Regions from separate parts of the Homo sapiens genome. Here region 2 is linked to region 1. Evidence: promoter capture Hi-C in 16 types of primary human blood cells and fetal thymus (Javierre and others, 2016). All regions are on one chromosome and are shown on one strand. The core of a region is centred on a gene start or on the middle of the fragment in contact, and the rest is flanking DNA. Distances in the headings are between cores, read along the strand shown.

The links. Contacts are between HindIII fragments. The CHiCAGO score rates a contact against its expected background, and 5 or more counts as called.
Region 2: a contact is called between a fragment that was not itself captured here and the fragment with the promoter of ZNF784 in region 1, in 1 of 17 cell types (fetal thymus). The highest score is 6.0, in fetal thymus.

Annotation. Positions count from the first base shown.
Region 1 is chr19:55,622,334-55,626,553 of GRCh38, forward strand. ZNF784 (zinc finger protein 784) reads right to left here and starts at 2,233. Exons shown (of 2, transcript NM_203374.2): 1 at 2,151-2,233; 2 at 1-311. The coding sequence starts at 2,228. RefSeq lists enhancers at 2,214-2,713, 2,464-2,613 and silencers at 2,214-2,263, 2,334-2,393. The HindIII fragment of the contact is 2,172 bases long and covers 385-2,556 here.
Region 2 is chr19:55,090,869-55,095,088 of GRCh38, forward strand. PPP1R12C (protein phosphatase 1 regulatory subunit 12C) reads right to left here. Exons shown (of 22, transcript NM_017607.4): 12 at 3,793-3,930; 13 at 3,477-3,567; 14 at 2,285-2,365; 15 at 2,148-2,208; 16 at 1,915-2,000; 17 at 1,754-1,794; 18 at 1,574-1,676; 19 at 1,354-1,458; 20 at 991-1,041; 21 at 782-832; 22 at 50-690. The coding sequence ends at 604. Among named protein-coding and RNA genes, the nearest start is that of EPS8L1, 17 kb to the left of the region's middle. The HindIII fragment of the contact is 7,228 bases long and covers 1-4,220 here.

The DNA.
Region 1 (4,220 bases), core at 983-3,482:
CGGTAGGGCCGCTCCCCCGTGTGCAAGCTGTAGTGCGCGCGCAGGCTGGCGGGGCCCGGGCAGCTGTGGCCGCACACGTGGCACCGGCTCGGGTCCCCACCCTGCCCGCCTCCCTCGGCCCCAGCCAAGTGGCCATGTTCGTGGAACAGCAGCTCGGAAACCAGCCGGAAGGCAGCAGGGCACAAGGCACAGTGGAAAGAACCTGGCTCCGGGGGCTCAGGGACCAGCGTGGTGTCCGTCACCTTCACCACCTGGATCTCGATGAGGTCACTCGGGGGTGTGCCAGGCCGGCAGTCATCAGGCACCAGGACCTGGGCAAGAGGAGAAGAAAGAGGAGCCTGTGGAACCTGCCTCAGGACCGCCCCAGCACGCCCCAATTATTAAAGCTTGGGCTCCTCTGTTATTTTCAGACAGGGCCTCACTCTGTTGCCCTGGCGCGATCGTGGCTCATTGCAACCTTGACCTCCTGGGCTCAAGCGATCCTCCCACTTCATCTCCCTGAGTAGCTGGGATTACAGGCATGCACCACCACATCCAGCTAGTTAAAAAAAAATTATTTCTGGCTGGGCACGGTGGCTCAGGCCTGTAATACCAGCACATTGGGAGGCTGAGGTAGGCAGATCACCTGAGGTCAGGAGTTCGAAACCAGCCTGGCCAACATGGCAAATACCGTTTCTACTAAAAATGCAAAAATTAGCCAGGTGTTGTGGCTGCTGCCTGTAATCCCAGCTACTCGGGAGACTAAGACACGAGAATCGCTTGAACCCAGGAGGTGGAGGTTGCAGTGAGATGTGATCATGCCACTGCCCTCCAGCTCAGGCGACAGAACAAGACTCCATCTTAGACAGCAAAACAAACAAAAATTATTATTATTATTTTTAATGTAGAGGGAGTCCCACTATGTTGCCCAGGCTGGTCTCCAACTACTGGGCTCAAGAGATCCTTCTGGCTCTGCCTCCTAAAGTGCTGGGATTGCAGGCGTGAGCCGCCGCGCCCGGCCCATCCTCCAGGATTCTGTTGTATCCTCATCAACATTTCCTCTCCTGTCCAAAATATATCATGGATCCCACCTTTTGTCCTCCACCCTAGTTAAAGCCCCATCACTTGGCGCCTCCAAAATTGAAAAACCCAAGGGCATCTCTGTTCCTATTTCTGCTGGCTTGTAACCCACCTCCCAGGAATAGCCTGAAGGTCTTTTGAAAATGTAAATCAGATCAAGTCATTTTTCGCACTCAAAACCCTCCAGTGGCTCCAAATGACTTATCCCAAATCGTCACTATAATATCTGTGGCGATGTAGCTCCACTTATCTCTCTGACCCCAGCTTAAACATAAGCCGGCACCCAGCTGACTTCTCTCGTCTAAATTTAGCTGCCCCACCCCTACTCTTGGCTCAATTTATAGAAATTGGCTCAATTTTTATTTCCTTTATAGAACATATCACAGTAACTCTCCTTTATTGTCTCTCTCCTCTCAAGAGACTGCAGGCTCCAAAAGAACACAACCCTTGTCTGTCTTGGTCACTTCTCTATTTACAGAGCCGAAGTAGGAGCTCAGTAAATGTTTGTTGAATGAATGAATGTCCTCAATTAGTCTAATTCTGAGTGGGGTAACGTGGAGGAAGTTCCAAAGTCACCTAGACCACCCACTTCTACCCCCAAATTCTCCCTTGGGCATTCGAGAAGCATCACTAAGACCCTTGAAGAATTATCCCCTACCCCGACATAGGTGCTCCAATCATAATCCCCCACGTTTTTCAGGGTCACCTTCCCAACCTTCTACCCTAGAATTAGCCCTAGAATTTATGAGGCCCCGCCCCTTACAAGGCTCCACCCAAATTATGCAAATTATCCCTGGTAAGCCCCCTTCCCTGGACCCAAACCCGTCCCACAAGACAACACCGTCCTCAGACTCCGCCCCCATCCAGGCCCCGCCCACCACCCATAGGTCCCTCCCCCACCCCGCCCACCATGACATAGTCTCCTCCCCTGCCCCGCCCCTCGCGAAACCACAAGAAGCCCCACCCCCAGGGCCATAGCACTAAATACCTCCCTCGCCCACCCCCTCATAGGCCACGCCCCGGACCCGCCCCCCACACTACGACCTCCTCCCACCTCGAGCCCCACGCCCAGGCCCCTTCCTTGCCCGCACCAGGTCCAGTGGCTCCTGGGATCGCGACTCCGGAGTCGGTGAGCTCCGACTCTGGGCCTCTGGGCGCGCAGCGGCCATCTTGTGCCCAAGCCCCGCCCCCAAGGCCAATGTTCGCTCTGAAAGGGGGTGGGGCTCGAACTGGCGTAAGAGCTACTGCGCAGGCGCAGTGCGGGGCTGCGAGGGGGCGTGGTGCAGCAGGGGGCGTGGCGGGGCGGGGCGTGGCGGCTGAGCCCGGGAGAATGTGAGTTGTTCCCTCTCTAATTACCTGTCTGTCCCTCCGAGGGTACGCTCTGTGTGGCGCTAGGATGCCTGTAACACCCTGGGAACAAATCCGAACGTTCCTTCTAAACCAACGCAGGCCGACTCGAGGCTCTGGCTGTCAGGGGAACCTCAGCAGAACTGAAGAAGCTTTGCTTTGTTTCCACGGTAAACGTTTTTGTGATTACCTCTGCACTGCTCATGACAACGTAATGACGCCAAGTTTATAAACGTCGGTGTAGGCCGGGTGCGGTGGCTCATGCCTGTATTCTCAGCTACTCGGGAGGCTGAGGTGGGAGGATCGCTTGAGGCCGGGAGGTCGAGGCTGCAGTGAGCCATGATCTCGCCACTGCATGCAGCCTGAGTGACAGAGACTCTGTCAAAAAAAAAAAAAAAAAAGGCAGTGTGGAGAAAAATATTCAGTAAACAGCAACACAGGTGGTCCTGGGAGGACGCAAAAACCCGCAAGCTGATGTTATGTTTGGGAGGAAAGAGCTCAAAAACGCGGGGTTTTCAGCAGCATCAAGGACGGGGCTCTTCTTAGCTGCCCCGTTTAGTCATTCTGGTGGTATCACCTTGGATAAGTCACTACACTTCTCTGGACCATTTCTCTTTCTTTTGTGTAGCACTGTAGAAGCATTGTGACAAACCACTGAGAAGAGACATGGAAGAGTTTGGAAACATCTTTAAATAGTTTTCTTGAAAGGGCAGGATAGGAGATACTTAAACATGATCCTAAGCATGATCATTTCATTCATAAATATATATGAAATTATATTTTGTGATATGTTGGTATAAAATAAAGATAAACACCACTTAGGCTGAATTATCTCCTCCTCCTCCTTTCTTCTTCTTTTATAGAGATGGGGATCTTGCTGTCTTGCCTTGCCCAGGCTGGTCTTGAACTCCTAGCCTTAAGCGATCCTTCTGCCTTGGTCTTCCAAAGCTATATTTCCCTTCTTTTCTTTTGATTTTAAAATAATTTTTTTTTTTTTGAGATGGAGTCTCACTCTGTCGCCCAGGCTGGAGTGCAGTGGCATGATCATGGCTCACTGCAACCTCTGCCTCCCGGGCTCAAGCGATTCTCCTGCCTCAGCCTCTTGAGTAGCTGGGATTACAGGTGCCCGCCACCATGCCCGGCTAATTTTTGTATTTTTAGTATATACAGGGTCTCACCATGTTGGCCAGGCTGGTCTCGAACTCCTGACCTCAGGTGATCCGCCCACCTCGGCCTCCCAAAGTGCTGGGATTACAGGTGTGAGCCACTGCGCCCGGCCTAAAATAAATTTTTAAATGTTGTGGGTCCCTAAGAGTATCATGGGCCCTAGGCACTGTATCTACTACTGTGTCTAATGCTTAAGTCAGCTCTTTCTGTCCAGGTTTCCTAATTTGCAAAATGAGGGTGATAATAAAACCTACTTTACACAGTTGCTATGATGATTAAAGAAGTCATTATATATAAAGTATTTTGGACAATGTATGGCACACAGCAGGTGCTATGAGTTAGCTATAATAATTACTACCATTTGGCACTCCCACTAGCAATAAATAGGGACCTTTGTTGCTTAACATTCCTATCAATATCTGATACTCAAACTTTAAAATGTTCGCTAATCTCTTGGGTGTGAAATAATTTCATTTCTTTTCTTTTTTTTGAGAAACAGCCCAGGCTGGAGTGCAGTGGCGTGATCTCAGCTCACTGCAACCTCCACCTCCTTGGTTCAAACAAATTTCCTGCCTCAGCTTCCCAAGTAGCTGGGACTACAGGTGTGACACGTCATTACGTTATCGCAAGTGGTGCAGAGGTAACCA
Region 2 (4,220 bases), core at 583-3,082, 530 kb before region 1:
AGGAGCAGGAAACAGTGCCCTCCCTCTGGCTGGGAACACAGAGCTTGAGTGGCAACTTCACGACTTTTATTTGTGGTGCCTGTGCTTTATCTCGAAAATACCTTCTCCCCCTGCCCCAGACAGTGGGCGGGGAGGGGGCAGCAAAAAATAGAAGACGTCCCTCCCTATTGCACATGGACCCTATATACAGGCCCACCTGGCTGAGGCTGGCGGGACTCTTGGCACATTCTTGGATCCCTGCTCAGGAGGGGAGGGGTGACGGGGTGGCATCACACGTGAGATGGGGACCTCCAGGCGGCCACTCTGGTCCTGGCTACTGATCCTTGCACTTCTTGGTCCTCAGTTCCTTCCTGGTCCCGTCTCTGGCCCTGGTCCCCTCTGGCAACGTCCCCCTGCTTGGCTCGGCCTCCCACCTCCATCCTGGCCTCGGGTGGCCCCCTCGGCTCCTGGGGACTCTGCTCCCCTCCCAGTCCGGAGGTCCCAGGGGGGCTATGGCTTCTCTGAGACTTCCCCCGGAGCCCTGTCACTCGTGTTCACACGGGGGAAGGGGTGCGTGTGGCAGAAGCAGCTGTATAAATACGGGTGCGGGAAAGTCCCTCCGGGTCACTTGGAGAGTTTGCTGATGACGCGGATCAACGCTGCATTCTCATCCTTGAGGCGCTGGTTGTCAGCGCGGAGGTCAGACAGGGCCTGGGGGACGGCAAGGGTCAGCTGGGCAGCCCTGGCGGGTTGCACCCCCACCCACCCTCGGCCCTCTGCCCACAGCCCCCACAGCCCCCACCTTCAGCTCCTCCTCCAGCTCTGCGGCCTTGCGTTCCAGGGCCCTGCGCTCCTGGAATGAACAGGGAAAGTGCAGAAACTGAGTGAGGCTGAGGAGGGCAGGGGAAGGCCAGGGGCCAGCTGGGAAGGGCAATGTGGCTCCCTTGGTCCAAACTTAGGGATGTGAGGCTGGGGACGCCTCTGGCCCCCATCCCCACTGCCCCTACTCACGAATCTCTCCAGTTCCAGGAGGGCTGGCCTCTCAGCGAAGCGTTCTTGCCTCTGGTGAGGACACAGAAAGCACAGGGGTCAGCAGAAGAAGCCAGCACTGCTCTGAAGGGTCCTAGGCTCCTGCTGGGCACCCGCCCGCCCACTAGGCAGCCCACAAGCCCTTCCCCCACGGGCCAGGCCCCGCCACCGGCAGGCCCACAGCCCCATCCCCTCGCTCAGACTCCGCCTCCGAGATCTCGGCCCCGCCCCTCAAGTGAAGCCCAGCCCCGCCGGCACCCCCAGGCCAGGCTCTACCTCCCAGCAGTCTAAGCCCCACCCAGGCGGCCCTGCCAGTTCCCGTGACCCTGGCCTCGGCGCCCTTACCTGCGTGGCCCGCTCCAGCTCCACCTTGAGCTGCGCCAGCCGCAGCGTGGTCTCGGTCAGGGCCTCGCGAAGCCGCTCGTTCTCCCTGCGCAGCTCTGCATACAGCTGGGGGTCAGGTAGAGGAGGGTCAGGTGGAGGATGGGGCGATGCTGGGGGGGCGGGGAAGCCAGGAAGCTGGGCACCCAGCAGGCAAAGCCCCGACGGAGGGGTGGGATCGCACCGTCCTAAAGCCTCCGTCTGGCTCTTCCGATTCTGGCTCAGGTTCTGGGTTGAGGTCCCGCTGCCACCGCTGCCTGCGGGCCGAGGGGCCGCCCTCCAGGGTGCTGGGGCAGGGGAGGAGCGCGCGTCAGGGGCCGGCCCGGCCCGCACGCAGACCCCACCTCTCCCACCCCGCCCCTACCTGGACTCCTGGCTGCGGTCAGCCGGCTCCGCCTCCTCCCCCTGTGGGCAGGTAGACGGGGGTTCAATGGGTATGGGAGGGACTTTAGCGGGTATGGGAAGGGCTTTGCCCGCCCCCCGGCCCACCCTCTGCACCAGCTCGGCCCCACCTGAGCCCCTCACCTCCGCAGGCCCCCTCCACTCCTTTCCGACCTTGCGGTGCTCCCTGGCCGCCTGCGGTCCCGGACCCTGCCCGTCGGGCGCCTCTGCTGGGGGAGGGGCAGGAATCAGCCCAGGCACCTCCAGAGCCCCCTCTCGGTGCCTGGGTCCCCGGGTCAAGCCCCCAGGAAAGCAAGAAGACTATGGGAGAAACTGGATGATTCCCTGGGAATGACCTCCCCGAGAGCAGACCTCACCTCTCTGGGCAGGGCTGTCAGAGTTCTCCACTCCAGGGACGCGGGGCCTTCGGGAAGGGTCCTGTCGGGAGGGGGAGGCGAGTCAGGGAAGCAGGACATCCCGCACCACCCCACTCGCCCTCGCTGACCCCTCTCACCAGGCTCTGCGCCGGCTTCTCTGACTCTGGGGCCTTCCCTGCAGCCTTCTCTGCCTCCTTCAGGTCTGTAAGAGTCACACCCTGGCAGGGAAAGGGGACAGTCAGGGGACGCTGGGGTCAGGGCCCAGCCCCTCCTCCCTCAGACCCAGGAGCCCAGGCCCCAGCCCCTCCTCCCTCAGACCCAGGAGCCCAGACCCCAGCCCCTCCTCCCTCAGACCCAGGAGTCCAGACCTCCAGCCCCTCCTCCCTCAGACCCAGGAGTCCAGGCCCCAGCCCCTCCTCCCTCAGACCCAGGAGTCCAGACCTCCAGCCCCTCCTCCCTCAGACCCAGGAGTCCAGGCCCCAGCCCCTCCTCCCTCAGACCCAGGAGTCCAGACCTCCAGCCCCTCCTCCCTCAGACCCAGGAGCCCAGGCCCCAGCCCCTCCTCCCTCAGACCCAGGAGTCCAGACCTCCAGCCCCTCCTCCCTCAGACCCAGGAGCCCAGACCCCAGCCCCTCCTCCCTCAGACCCAGGAGCCCAGGCCCCAGCCCCTCCTCCCTCAGACCCAGGAGCCCAGACCCCAGCCCCTCCTCCCTCAGACCCAGGAGCCCAGGCCCCAGCCCCTCCTCCCTCAGACCCAGGAGCCCAGACCCCAGCCCCTCCTCCCTCAGACCCAGGAGTCCAGGCCCCAGCCCCTCCTCCCTCAGACCCAGGAGTCCAGACCTCCAGCCCCTCCTCCCTCAGACCCAGGAGCCCAGACCCCAGCCCCTCCTCCCTCAGACCCAGGAGTCCAGGCCCCAGCCCCTCCTCCCTCAGACCCAGGAGCCCAGGCCCCAGCCCCTCCTCCCTCAGACCCAGGAGTCCAGGCCCCAGCCCCTCCTCCCTCAGACCCAGGAGTCCAGACCTCCAGCCCCTCCTCCCTCAGACCCAGGAGTCCAGGCCCCAGCCCCTCCTCCCTCAGACCCAGGAGCCCAGGCCCCAGCCCCTCCTCCCTCAGACCCAGGAGTCCAGGCCCCAGCCCCTCCTCCCTCAGACCCAGGAGTCCAGACCTCCAGCCCCTCCTCCCTCAGACCCAGGAGTCCAGGCCCCAGCCCCTCCTCCCTCAGACCCAGGAATCCAGGCCCCCAGCCCCTCCTCCCTCAGACCCAGGAGTCCAGGCCCCAGCCCCTCCTCCCTCAGACCCAGGAGTCCAGACCCCAGCCCACCCCACACCTGTGTGGACCTCCGAGACTGGCGCATGAGACGGGAGCGAGCTTTTCTCTGGGATTCCGACTCCTCATCCCGCACAGGCATCTGGTAGGACCTGAGGGAAGGGTCCCAACCTCAGACAGGGAACCTGGGGACCCTGTCCCATTCCGTGGCTGACACCCTCCGCGGGAAGCAAGTTCTGTGGGAGGGGACTCCAACTCCCAGCAGACCTGAGGCCAGCTCTCCCTCAGGAGCCCACCCAAAGCCCCGGGACTCCTGCTTCACATCGTCTCTCCCTGCTGGGGGCGGGGGCGGCAGCTTCCTGCCCTGGCCTCTTCACCTCCGTCGGTCCCGGGAGTCCGCTGGGGGCGCCGTGGAGGCTGTGGGGACGTTTGGCTTCGCTGGGGATTCAGGCTCCGGAATCCTGGAGGGAGGCGAGGAGTTCTCCAAGCAAGGAGGAGGCTTGGTGACCTCAGACCTGCATCAATTCATTCATTCCACAAACATTACCCAGGTGCATTGTGTGCCGGCACTGGAGATGCAGCCGTGAGTGAAAGAAACAAATTATCTGGGCCACAACAGAGTCAGAGCTGAGCAGAAATACACAAAACCCACAAAAGCCATGAAAAGACCAGCACACTACGCAACCGGTCAGAAGGATAAAGGACTCTGGACAGAAGCAGCAGTGCGAGAACTGAGAGCGGGAGGGTGTGCGTGTGCGGACGGCGCCGTGGTGGCAGCAGGGTGGTCAGTGTGCACCTCGGGGTG